3 separate regions of the Homo sapiens genome follow, and regions 1 and 3 are each linked to region 2. The links are contacts of gene promoters, found by promoter capture Hi-C in blood cells and fetal thymus (Javierre and others, 2016). All regions are on one chromosome and are shown on one strand. The core of a region is centred on a gene start or on the middle of the fragment in contact, and the rest is flanking DNA. Distances in the headings are between cores, read along the strand shown.

Region 1 (4,589 bases), core at 1,218-3,717, 490 kb after region 2:
AAAATCAAAGTGCTTTAAAAGCCCAATATTATCATTACTTCTATTGCAACTTTTACATACATATATTGTTTTTGTTTTCCAGAGAGATTAGTTTATAAAACAAAGCAAACAAAACCCTACAGAAGGGTTTGTATTCTGGTCTTGTAGAGCAGCAAGGAAGGGGGCTCTCAGGAGTCTGTGGCACTTTGCAGCCTGGTTTAAGGGTAAGGACCCCGGGGACAGAGTGCTGGAGGCAGCTACTCTAGGTCAGTCAGATCCCAGGCAGTGCAGAGGCAAAAAATTGGGGTTTCTGAACACCTCCATTACTCATTAGTGAATTTGTGCAGAGTAATGCGTACTTGTAAAGAAATCTGTTGAACTGGTGAGAGGAAGCCCCAGCAGGAGAATTTGGTGACCAAAACTGTCCCCAGCATTAGAGGGGTTTCACATTTTCATCTCCTGAAGGAATGGCTGCTGTGACTCCCTGGCTGGATTCTAGGGGCACCCTGATCTTCACAGCCATCCTCGCCAACTTATGTGTAGTCCTTTTCTTCTTGAGCCAAGAAAAGATTGGTAGCATCTTTTCAGACATATTAAATCAAGACACGACATTTTTAAAATAAAAATATTTTTATAGACACATATATGGCATAGATGCAGTTATTTCTATATTTAATGTTATTTTGTTTCTGAAGTAATGTATTTGTTATTTATCCTCCTACTCACTACCTGACTCTGTGAAGGAGTTGGCATGTTTTACAATAAAAGACAGATGCTATAGAAACATTAAGATAAAGAAAAAGAACACAGTCCGTGAACTGAATTTCAGGAGAGAAGAGAAGGAATTCAAAGATAGCTGCTAGAGCTGAGGACAAAAAAACAAAACAAAACAAAACAAAAAAAACGCACAAAAAAAAACCAGACACACAAAAAAATAGAACAAAACAAAACAAAAACTCTGAAATTCTTTGGAAGCAAGTAAAAAAAGAAATTTGCTATTATATGATAAAATAAAATTTACCAGTTTCTCAAGAGATAAATGTCAGAAAAGTTTACAGAGCATACCATTTTTTAAGCCAAAAAAGAAAAAAAAAAGTGTTGACTGATGTCTGGTCACAGGTTGTTAGACCACAGAGTTCTCCAGACACACAGACAGAAGCTTCTCTCCTAGTCTCTCTTGGTTCCCTGTGTTAAAAGCACTGCCTCTCACCGGGCAGGTGAGTGTGCTGCTGCAGTAGAGTCTGGAGAGATGCTTACAGGTTCCAGCTGATTAGCAGAGCAGGGATAATTGCCGTTCCTTATGCTAACTAGGGACCACATTCTCCCTGGCTCAAATCATCAGCTTTCCTGCTGGCCCCAGGGGACTCTCAACTCCTTTCTTGGGTGCACTATTTGGAGATGTGACCTTGGACAACAGAGCTCCCAAAAGTCAAAAGGCTGCTTGCATGTGTTGAAATTATTTGTGCAATATCATGTGGGAATTGTCTACATGGGAACACAGTTTTGTAGAAAGAAGATATACAGTTTTTATTATGTTTTCAAGTGAGCTCATAACTTCAAAAACATAAGGATAATTAATGTAGGATTCTAGCACTACATCTGTGATATTGCATAAGTTTCACCGTGAAGTAACATGCATTGAAGTAGGGTGGTCTTCATTCCACCTTGACCCTTGGACTATACCTTCTACAACTACTGCTCAGGATAGGCAGGGACCCTTCCTCATAGTGTCTCTAGCCCCTTCTCTGCTCTTTTCTGTAATGTCAAATCATCATAAAACCACAGTGAATATATCTATAGTGATTTATGATTTATAAAGTTCATGTAAATATATCATTAATGTAAGCTTCACAATGACTCTGGGAGGTAAGCACTGTAGCCTCCATTTTACAGATGAGAAAACTCAAGTTCAGAGATTTTCCATGAATGGTTCAAGGTCTCACTAGAGGTAGTAGATTCCGGATCCGTGAGGGAACCTGAATTCTGTGATATGTTTACAGTGTATTCTTCCCACTAGAAGCCATGATGAGGTTGGAAAAGGTGGACTTTCCACATAGCTGAAACCATCCCAAGCCACTAATACCTCTTCCTGTTAGCTCACTTGATGCGCTGAAATGTGTTCTCAGCTGCTCAGTATATACATCATAAATTTCTGCTTACAGCATCTATAGAAAAGGCGATTTTGCTAGATGGTAGCTCAAGACATTAGCATATGTGACGTCTATTAAACCTTGGATACATAGACTCCTGTCCTGGTCACAGAGTTACCCACAATGGCAAGTACAATGGGGGTGGGGTGATGCTGGTGGGAAGGGGAGTTTCCTTTATTTTGGATGGGCTTTAGCAGCTTTCGATCATTTGCACAAAAGGATTTGACTCTGCCCATCAGAAAGCACTTCTTCTGAATTTCCCCACATAGGAGGCCTATGAGACACGTGAAGATATCATCAGGCTGGTGGGGGAGCTGGTGAGCATCGTTGGGGCTGTGATCATCCTGCTCCTAGAGGTGAGGGGCAGGCGGGGTCCAGGCTAATCCCATCCCATCTAAGGCCCAGACTGTACCGCAGTCCACATTGTATTTTTGCTTTGCCGTCCTCTCCCCAGATTCCAGACATCTTCAGGGTTGGTGCCTCTCGCTATTTTGGAAAGACGATTCTTGGGGGGCCATTCCATGTCATCATGTGAGTATCCCCTCATTCCAGCCCCCTGCCTTTCCTTACCAGAATCTTTTCCTGTCTCCAGCTCACTCTCTGAGTTCTAGGCCTCAGGTCACTCTCACTCCAAGGACTTCTCTCCAGTGGACTTGTAGGTGTAACTGTATGTGCGTTTTAGGTGTAAAGACTAAGCCTGAGTGTGTGGATACCACCCCGGTCACCACTATGCTGTAGGGACCTAAAATAGTTCCAGCTTGTCTCTCACTCTCTGCTTTCTGCTCCCCCAGCATCACCTATGCCTCCCTGGTGCTGGTGACCATGGTGATGCGGCTCACCAACACCAATGGGGAGGTGGTGCCCATGTCCTTTGCCCTGGTGCTGGGCTGGTGCAGTGTCATGTATTTCACTCGAGGATTCCAGATGCTGGGTCCCTTCACCATCATGATCCAGAAGGTCAGTGCTTTCCCGAAGCTTCCTCCGCCTCAGGCACAAGACCTTCACAGACAGAGGGATGGAGGTAGAATGGAGCTGGTAGAACTATGGGGGCCTCTTGATCTGTTAGCGTTAGCTGCTCAAAAGCAGTGGAAAAGGAATCATCCCACCCTTTCTTCCTTCTGTTTCCTGCAGATGATTTTTGGAGACCTAATGCGTTTCTGCTGGCTGATGGCTGTGGTCATCTTGGGATTTGCCTCCGGTAAGGCACCATACACTCCTCTACTAGATCAGCAGATCTAGTTCTCCAGAAAGTTCACTCTCATTCTTGCTCTCAGTTCTCATTTGCACTTCATTTTGCTTTCTTTTTTTTTGTTTGTTTTTTGTTTTGTTTTTTCCTGTTGGAAGGTAAGTCTAAAAGCACACCCATATTTATAGGACCAGGGGCCACTCAGGTTGGCCTGGAACGTAAAGCCATGTGTTCAGGGCCAATAAGATTTATGTTCACTAACTGCCTTGCAAGATCTTTAAAGGAGAGACAGGAAAAGACTTTTGGTGAGAACAGGGCATTAAACAGGAAAGACTGGCCAGTCATGGATCTCAGAAAACCATGTGGACAAACAGAGATAGTGCCATGCTTAACTCTCCTATGTTTACAATTCAGAAGAGGAAACCTAAAGCACTCAACAACATATAACTTGCTTTTTTTCTATATGTGGTCATTTAAAGCTGAGAAAAATATGAAAGAATTAGAAAAAGGAGGTGCAGAAAAACAGCTTGGACAGTTTGAAGATGACAGAGAAAACAAAAAAGAAGAGTTGTGAAGAGAGACTGGGAGAACAGGAACACACAGGCACCCAGTCAAGGCACAGCCAGTGAAAGTGCCAGGGAGCAAAAGAAAGGAACGGCACAGCAGGAAAACACAGGCAGGTGGAAACAGCCAGAGGGAAGGAGAGGGTGGGTGGAGGAGCAGAAGAAAGTCCTTAGGGAGGGGCAGAAAGAGGAAGGCCCAGGTCTGAAAAGCAAAAGGCCAGTAGCTCAAATTCAGTCCTCAGTGTCTGCAACTGACCATCTATTAGACAAGAAGAGGCACTAGAAGGATCCCCCCATCTCTAAAAAGCAATGACTCAGTGCAGAGGACTCTATTACTGTCCTCAGGGATTTCCCGTTCAATGGGGATTCCCACAAAACAACAGACCAAAACAAAAAACAAACAAAACAAAACAACAACAACAAAACCCCCACCAAAATCTGAAATGTGAAAGAGTAAAACCATGGCGTTCTGCCTGTTTGGAGTTTTCCACCCCAAGCCCTTATGTACCCTTTCCTCCCACTCCCTGGCCATCTACATCTATACATAACACAGATTACAAAATGAGGTGATGGTCCCAGAGTGGCTTTCTGTAGATGTCCTCTATCCAGAACTCTCTAAATGTTCACTTCTTGGCCATTGCACTTGCTTTTCTCTTAAATAAATAAGGAGGCAATGCTTTGTCATAGACCCTGTTTCTGCTCTCAGAATGT
Region 2 (4,261 bases), core at 175-2,674:
GAAGATATGACTCTTACCCCTTGCCTTCCCCGGCCCTATTACCCAGCTCTGGGGCCTGCACAAAGACAGAAAGAGGAATATAGGAGTGTAATTCAAGTCAGAGGTAGAATTAGGTTAAAAGCTGGATCAAGATTGGGTTGAGTTTAGGATTAGAATTGGGAAAAGGTTCGTCAATTCTTAATCCCACCTACTAGGCGGCGCCCGCAGTCTCATTCGGGTCAAGACGCCTCCGGTTCTTGAATTTGATTACCAGTCTAGCAAGTTTCTTTCCTGCCCTACTGTCCCTTTAAGGAGGTGAACCAGGTGAGGCCGGGACTCCGCCCCCGGCGCTGGCCCCGCCCCCCGCCCCCGCCCGGCCCGCCCGGCTCTCCTAGTCCCTTGCAACCTGGCGCTGCCATCCGGGCCACTGTCCCAGGTCCCGGCCCGGAGCTATGGAGCGGCGCTGGCCCCTGGGGCTAGGGCTGGTGCTGCTGCTCTGCGCCCCGCTGCCCCCGGGGGCGCGCGCCAAGGAAGGTACCGACCCCCGCCCCCGCGCCCCCAACCCCCGCGCCCCGCCCCTTCCCGGGGCCCGGCCAGCACCCCCCTGCAGAAGCCGGCATTCCTAGGGGCCATGTTCCCCGAGACCCTCGCCAGCTCTCTCGCTGTGCCCGACCGCCAGGCTATCGACTGGCCAGGCCCATCTTTGGTCTTTAACCCCAAGCGGCTGCTCTCCCGGGTCAGTCACCCCCACTCCCGCAGGCCAGCAATCTGCTCCTGGGAGTGGGGAGGGAATTCCGGACCCTTGCCAGGAAGTAGCACCTGCACCCGCACCCCTGCCTGCATTCCCAGACAGTCCCAGCTTCAGGTGCCCACCCCAGAGATCTGAGCCCTTGGAAGTTGAAGGTGGGAAGTCGCCTCCTGCCAACCTAGGCCAGGGACAGAGGGAGCTGCCTCCGGGAGAAGGGTTAGGACTGACGCCACAGGGGTTCCCAGTTGTCCGAGTCGAATATTCCATGTGAAAGTTGGAACACCCTCTCCGGCCTTACTCCCCCCCACTTCCCAGGCAGGTAGCTGTGCCTCTTATCCCCACTTCACGGCTCTGATCACTGGCCAGGTCAGGCCAAAGCAGGCTTCGGACAGTGGAGGTGAGCCTCCCTACCCAGGAAACCCCTTCTGAGGTCCCCGGTCCACCCTGCCCACTCCTGGCTAGCAGAGGTGAGCTCCTCCTGCCCTCCACGCGTTCCAATCCTGCAGCTGATGGGTGTCCCAGGACGCAGCAGCCTGGGTAACTGAGCGTCTCGTGGGGCTGCTCTTCTTGCATTGACTTTGGTCAAAGACCCAGCGCCCCAACCCTTGTCCCACTCTACCTGCCTTCCTTCACACACACAAAGAAGAGTGAAATCCCTGGAGCTCTTCACTCCTCAGTCCTGAGCCCTTTTTCTCCCCTAAGCCTCAGGAAGTCACAGCTTTTAGGAACAGGATGTTGCAGCCTGGGGCTGAGGCCCCAGAATGATTAATGTGGGCTGCAGGGGCACCTCCTCCCCCAGAGGTGACAGACTTCTTTTCTCCCCACTTTCAGTTACTCTGATGGACACAAGCAAGGCACAGGGAGAGCTGGGCTGGCTGCTGGATCCCCCAAAAGATGGGGTAAGTGTCGGAAGAGGGAAGGATCTTGGAAAACTCCTGAAGGCCAGTGGGAAATGGGGTGGAGAGGTGGGTGGAGGAACAGAGAAAAGAGCAGGAAAAACTGGAAGTGTCTCCTCAGGGAGGGGGAGAGGAGGCTGAGTCAGAGCCTCCTCAATGGGACAAGGGGTGGGGGGGTCAGACTTCACCTCAAGATGAACGCTTGAATGGCCTGGCTCCTCCAGTGAATACTTGGGAATATTGTGAATACAAGCTGATACTTGTGAGGGGGAGAGGAGCTCACATACCCGGGGAGAGAATGCACCATGCTGGGGATGGTTGAAGGCTGAGACCAGTGCTTTGCTTGGGGAGGGATAGAAAAGGCAGAAAAGCATCCTCAATCTGAGATCCATTCATCCCAATGAAGTTGCATTGATAGGTTTCAGGGGGTGGGGAAACCCCATGAAAGTGTACTCTAAATTCTGTATATGTAAGCGGGCATTTTTTTTTCTGGAGAGACCAGCCAAAGCTTTCATCAAATTCTTCAAAGGGTCTTTGACTCCTCCGAAGTTAAAAGCTGCTCCCCTAAAGGTTTCTGAGCCCTTAGCTCATCCTCCACACCTCCTCAGGCTGACTGCGTGCACACCATGCATTCCAGCTGTTTGAAAGTGTCAGAGCTTGTTCCAGTTCCCTTCCTTCCTTGGATGTTCCTAAGACTCAGTGAACAGGTTGTGAGGTGGGTCTGAGAGAGCATATTCAGACTCAAATGCAGAGAGCAGCTCTTATGATGTACAAAAAACCAAACTCAGTTTTTTCCTACTGCACTCTCAACACAAATCACTTCGGTGACCTGTGGTCACCAAAATGCGTGTAGGGATTCCTCCCGCCTGCAGTCAGTTCTCTCTGGCAGATTCTTCAGTGGACAGTAGCTGAGTGTCCTCTAATCTTATTCAGTTCTTACACTATCTACCTGGAGATAGCCTCAGGTTGAGGGCTCAGCCCCACAAGACTGCCCTCCTCTAGACAACAATCACAAGTAACATGTTGTCACCTATACTTCTGTTCCATCGGCTGTAATCAGGTTTACCTGACCCTCCTCCTCGGGTTCAATTAGTTTGCTAGGATGGCTCACAGAACTCAGGGAAACATTGACTTGGATTTACTGGCTTACTATAACGGTTATTACAAATGGTACCATGAACACCAGATGGAATAGCTGCATGGGGCAAGGTATATGTGAAGGAGGCGAGCCACCCTGCAGGGACCTAATCATGTATGGCCATCCAGAAGCCCTCCCAACCCCATCCTTCTGGGCTTTTATGGAGACTTCATTACATAGGCGTGATTAATTAGATCATTGCCCACTGGTTATCAGCTCAACCTTCAACCTCTCTACCTTCCCTGGAAGTTGGGGGTGGGGCCGAAAGTCCCAACTCCAATCACAAGGTTGCCTTCTGCCACCCAGGCCTCCCCCACCCCAGTCTAGTTCCCATCCCCGGCAGTCAGCTCACTAGCATATAAAAAGACATTTGTCACTTCAGGGATTTTGAGGGCTTTAGGGGTTGTTTGCCAGGAAATGTGGACAAAGACCAAATATATATTTTACAATTCACAGCACCCTTTCTGCCAGCAGCACAGCTGGTCACAGAACCACTTAGGGGGCTGCCTAAGTTACTGGAGCATCTACAACTCTGGCTCTGGAACCCCTTCTCTCAGGGTTTCCTTCCTTACCCCAGTACTTGAGACTTCAATCCAGCCCCTGTTTCTGGGGTCAGGGTTACTTGCTTTCTTTCCCTCTGGGTCCTACAGTCCTGGCTCCGTTCTCTGTTCTCCTACAGAGTAGCCTGTAATTAGAGCTAATAGACTAAACCATAGTGGATCCTCCAGGAGGGGCCGTTTGGAAGATCCAGCCCTAATAGTTGACTTATCTCATAAATCAGCTAATCACCCACAGTGATAGCTGCAGGTCAGACTTCTGGCTCCCATGGGCCTTCCTTGGGCCCTTGACACCTCCACCCAAATAACTCTTCCCTAATTTGACTGGAATGGCAGCAAGGCCACTTTCTCAGCACAGGCAAAACAGTCCTGCATGCTAGGAGGGCAAGGAGACAGCCAGCAGTCATACACTCCCACTATCTACCTTGTCCCCCTCCTTCTCCCCATCTTTTCAAAACACACACACACACACACACACACACGCACACATGCACACGCAGGCATTCAGGTCCAGAATGCACCCATGTGGCAGCCAGCAGCGCCTGAGTGATAAGCAAAAGGATCCTTACTGCTGATCCTGGACAGCTGGCTCTCGCCCATCTGTCACTGCTGGAACTGGGAGAGGCAAGGCACAGCTGGGAACATCTGCTTCTCCTGGCTCCAGCTTCAGCCACGGCAATCTGGCTAATGAGCTGCACGTTAACCACTCACCACCCTGCCCACCTGACCCCCGCCAGTGCCTTCCACTTGGGCTTCCCCAGCACAGCCTTCCTTAGGAGAAGCCTCCTGGTGCCTTTTTCATTCCAGCTTCCTTGCCTTTTAGACACCCCTTGCCCAATCTTTGAACTCCCTAACATAATGCAGAAATATGTGCCTCATAGCAGCTTCTATTTCTGCCCCACCTCACCCCAAATTTTTGATTAATGATTTTTTTTTTTGCCTT
Region 3 (4,261 bases), core at 387-2,886, 380 kb after region 2:
ATATATTATCCATCCATCCATCCATACCTCATCTAGCAAAATTTGTCAGCACTACTTATTTTATGTATATGATACATATATCTTATGTATTTAAATATCTTATAAATAAAAAATATATGTATATTTTATATAATATAAGATATATTTCATATATCTTATTTCATATATCTTATATAAATAAGATAAATAATATAAGATAATAATATAATATAAGGTGTGGTAGTTAGCTGTGTGAGTGATGAAATCTGACAGACCTAGGTTCAAATCTTGACTCACACAGCTATTAGTTCGGTTACCTTGTGATAAATTAATACATAATTTAATATATAAGATATATCTATGATATATTCATTTCACATAATGTATCTGTCTATATCTATATAAAAGATATATGATATATATATATAAAATATATAACTACTTAATTTATGTATGTACATTTTATGTGCCAGCCTCAGAATACAACAGTGAAGACATGTCCTAGCCCTCATGGAGTTTATATTCTAATGCCGTTGATAAATAATAAATACACTTAAATTTCCTCTCCTTCTTTCTTGCTTATTTTTTTCCCTGTGACATGATAAGCAAACTAAACTATTGCATATTTTACTTAGGTGTCTTGTGTGTGGTCTAGCCCCCACCTCTTCCTTGAATATAAGCTCCACAGGGCATGGAATTTTCTTTGTTCTGTTCATGACTACATTTGTTTATTGTTAAATAAAGGAATGAAGTAAATAATTAGACATAATACAAGGTAATAACAACTGTTATTAAAAAAATGGAAGTCCAATAATAAGTGTGTCTTTTCTGTTTTGGGCAGAGTGATTGGAAAGAGTCTTTGGAAAGGGTGACATTTGAATAATGGAATGAAGCGACAGGCAGAGAGCCAGGCATCCTTAACAGCTGGCGGTCCCAGATCTATTCCTTTTCTGTGCCAGGTGCCATCTTTCCTTCCTCCCACAACTTTGGAAGGAAAATGGAATTAGAGAAGAATGGATCTGTTCTGGGAAATTATCCCAAGCTCTAGAGTTCTCATTTAGAGATCTTGCTGTTCTGTAAAATGGAGATTTTAAAATCTGGAACAGCAGAGATGTTAGTCTTACATCCTCTGCCTCCTTTCTGCTGGCCCCAAAGGTGGGTCTATGCATTACCATTACAGATGAGAGCTGGGGTTTAAAATTCTGTCCTTTGAACATCATATAAAATGCCTTTGTGTCATCTTGCACAGTTAACCTAAGAGAAAGTAACTCCAGGACCGGAGGGACCTGATTGACTCACCTTTAAAACTGGCCTATTTAAAAGGTCTTAGCCTCTGCCCCCGAGAGAAGGTATATTTAATGGGGAAAAAGGCAAGGAAGGTATTTCACCACCAGTAGAAGAAGATGTCTTCACCCATTCTAGGGGGCTGGTTACACAGGGAAGTGAGAGCCTCACTTGTAGACTTGGGATGACAACATGTACCTCAAGCTATGTATGTGCCGACCACAGTAGCAGGGACATGTCACCTGATTCTCAGGTTGGAAATAGTTTCTTAACCTAATTTTTCTTCCTTCTCTCTTGAGAGCAGGACCATGTGGAGCAATGCCACCTCTCTTTTAATCTCTGGGCTTCAAAACAAGCAGAATCAAGGACTAAATGATGGACAACCACTCTAGTGCCACTGAATTCCACCTTCTAGGCTTCCCTGGGTCCCAAGGACTACACCACATTCTTTTTGCTATATTCTTTTTCTTCTATTTAGTGACATTAATGGGAAACACGGTCATCATTGTGATTGTCTGTGTGGATAAACGTCTGCAGTCCCCCATGTATTTCTTCCTCAGCCACCTCTCTACCCTGGAGATCCTGGTCACAACCATAATTGTCCCCATGATGCTTTGGGGATTGCTCTTCCTGGGATGCAGACAGTATCTTTCTCTACATGTATCGCTCAACTTTTCCTGTGGGACCATGGAGTTTGCATTACTTGGAGTGATGGCTGTGGACCGTTATGTGGCTGTGTGTAACCCTTTGAGGTACAACATCATTATGAACAGCAGTACCTGTATTTGGGTGGTAATAGTGTCATGGGTGTTTGGATTTCTTTCTGAAATCTGGCCCATCTATGCCACATTTCAGTTTACCTTCCGCAAATCAAATTCATTAGACCATTTTTACTGTGACCGAGGGCAATTGCTCAAACTGTCCTGCGATAACACTCTTCTCACAGAGTTTATCCTTTTCTTAATGGCTGTTTTTATTCTCATTGGTTCTTTGATCCCTACGATTGTCTCCTACACCTACATTATCTCCACCATCCTCAAGATCCCGTCAGCCTCTGGCCGGAGGAAAGCCTTCTCCACTTTTGCCTCCCACTTCACCTGTGTTGTGATTGGCTATGGCAGCTGCTTGTTTCTCTACGTGAAACCCAAGCAAACACAGGGAGTTGAGTACAATAAGATAGTTTCCCTGTTGGTTTCTGTGTTAACCCCCTTCCTGAATCCTTTCATCTTTACTCTTCGGAATGACAAAGTCAAAGAGGCCCTCCGAGATGGGATGAAACGCTGCTGTCAACTCCTGAAAGATTAGCTGTTCTGTAAGTCAGTTTTAGGTGGTCCAAGCCTCAGGGTTAATTATTAAGTCACCTAGAAAATTCTAACTCCTCTTTTCTCTTATCCTCTCATTACAAAAGTCAAAGAGTGTGTACAATTCGCCATCACACCATGGAAGTAGATTAGGCTGGTAATAATGAAATCCATTGTCTGTCCAGGAGACTCTCATAGCCTTAGTTCCTGCCTGTTTCCACTGTTGAACATATTCTTGTGATTTGGGGGGGACTAGAGAAAGGAAATGCAGACATTTTTGTAAGAATTCTATTAGCCCAACTCATTTCCTCATAGTCCATCTCTGAAAATGTATTTTCTGGGGAAGGGAGGAAGTGTGGAGGGAGGTGTACTGAGAAAGGTGTCCTAATCAGAGTAGAAAGGTAGAGATGCTCACTTTGGTCCTTCATCACCTGTTGCTAAGTTCTTCCCTATATTTTTGTGCAATTTTTTGGCAAGATGGCCATATGCATTTTAGATATCCTAAAGCTCTTTCTCTCTGCCCCATTGATACTGGAAAGGAAGTGTAACACTGTTTACGTTTTGTCACAGAACCAGTCTAGAATGGCGATATGAGGATTGGAATGCTTCTCATTCAGGAGATATTTGTGGTGTAAAGAAGATAAAAATATTTGAGGATAAAAATGGAGGAAAATTTATTTTTGTTAAGCTTCAGCATATTCCTTTCACTGCCCTTCTTTGTGGTGAGTATAGGGACAGGGGCAAATAAGAACTAAATGACTAATTCTAGAGAGCATCCTGTATTTTATGGCTGTTAAACACAACTATGTCTGTTCAGACTGTATCCAGATCTAGACTTCAAACTTTATAATGTCTTTTGATTCTCCGTCTCTCAAATCCAACAGTCTCAGTACCATCATGTGTATCTTCTCTGTGGGCAGAATTTTTTAAAAATAAGAGGCCATTCTTTTGACTCCCGGCTTTCTAGAAATTATAGGGATTGGCTGTTTGGTAGTGTAACTGTTGGAATTTCACATAATATTGGAAGAAGTCCTTATAAGGAAGAAGTTTACCTAAACAACAACAATCAGCAGATTCTACCAGCCCTAAAGTAAGTGAGAAAATTGAGCTGTTCAGCAGTGGGATGATGAGGCTACTGAGAATTTTGAAGAGTACTGTGTGAGGATGCCAGGTTGTCTTGTCCTGTGAGGAGTGATAACCGTCATGTATGTTTGGGTAGTTTGCATTGCATTAAAGTACCAGACAAGGTGGGGAATGAGCTTTAAATTCAGCCAGCCCATGCTCTGCAAGCCAACCAATGGACTCTGGTGGCACTGCATTGGCTGGAGAAAGGGGAGACTTTTGCTTAAACAAAGGTGCCCATGGTTTCCAAGCCCAGTAAATGAGGATCTGTTCTGACCAGAAAGAATACCTTTTTTCTAATTCATTAATCCAGAGAAGTATCCTTTAAGAGATGAGACAATAGAAGCTCAGAGAATTTAAATAACTTGCCAAAGTTTACTTAGCCATCCACTGTATCACATCCATCAGATTGGAAAAACATAAAACTCTGAGAATACTAAGTATTGATCTGAATGCTGGCGAATAGGGTTTTTAAAAAACCAACTTCTGGTAGAAATATAAGATATAAGATCCAAATAATTAGATAGTAGATGTCTATAATTAGGTTCTAGTATAGTCATAATAAGATAGTGGTA

What was found. The method cuts DNA at HindIII sites, captures the fragments that hold promoters and counts their contacts. A CHiCAGO score of 5 or more calls a contact.
Region 1: a contact is called between a fragment that was not itself captured here and the fragment with the promoter of EPHA1-AS1 in region 2, in 1 of 17 cell types (neutrophils). The highest score is 5.5, in neutrophils.
Region 3: a contact is called between the fragment with the promoter of OR9A2 here and the fragment with the promoter of EPHA1-AS1 in region 2, in 1 of 17 cell types (neutrophils). The highest score is 5.0, in neutrophils.

What each region holds. Positions count from the first base shown.
Region 1 is chr7:142,913,378-142,917,966 of GRCh38, reverse strand. TRPV5 (transient receptor potential cation channel subfamily V member 5) reads left to right here. Exons shown (of 15, transcript NM_019841.7): 9 at 2,399-2,485; 10 at 2,584-2,660; 11 at 2,921-3,086; 12 at 3,261-3,327. Among named protein-coding and RNA genes, the nearest start is that of TRPV5, 18 kb to the left of the region's middle. The HindIII fragment of the contact is 1,279 bases long and covers 1,828-3,106 here.
Region 2 is chr7:143,404,976-143,409,236 of GRCh38, reverse strand. EPHA1-AS1 (EPHA1 antisense RNA 1) reads right to left here and starts at 1,424. Exons shown (of 5, transcript NR_033897.1): 1 at 1,351-1,424. It overlaps EPHA1 (EPH receptor A1), which reads left to right and starts at 381. Exons shown (of 18, transcript NM_005232.5): 1 at 381-513; 2 at 1,559-1,626. The coding sequence starts at 432. RefSeq lists enhancers at 1-309, 3,894-4,261. The HindIII fragment of the contact is 7,900 bases long and covers 1-2,133 here.
Region 3 is chr7:143,024,507-143,028,767 of GRCh38, reverse strand. OR9A2 (olfactory receptor family 9 subfamily A member 2) reads left to right here and starts at 1,636. Exons shown (of 1, transcript NM_001001658.1): 1 at 1,636-2,568. The coding sequence starts at 1,636. The coding sequence ends at 2,568. The HindIII fragment of the contact is 3,416 bases long and covers 1-3,254 here.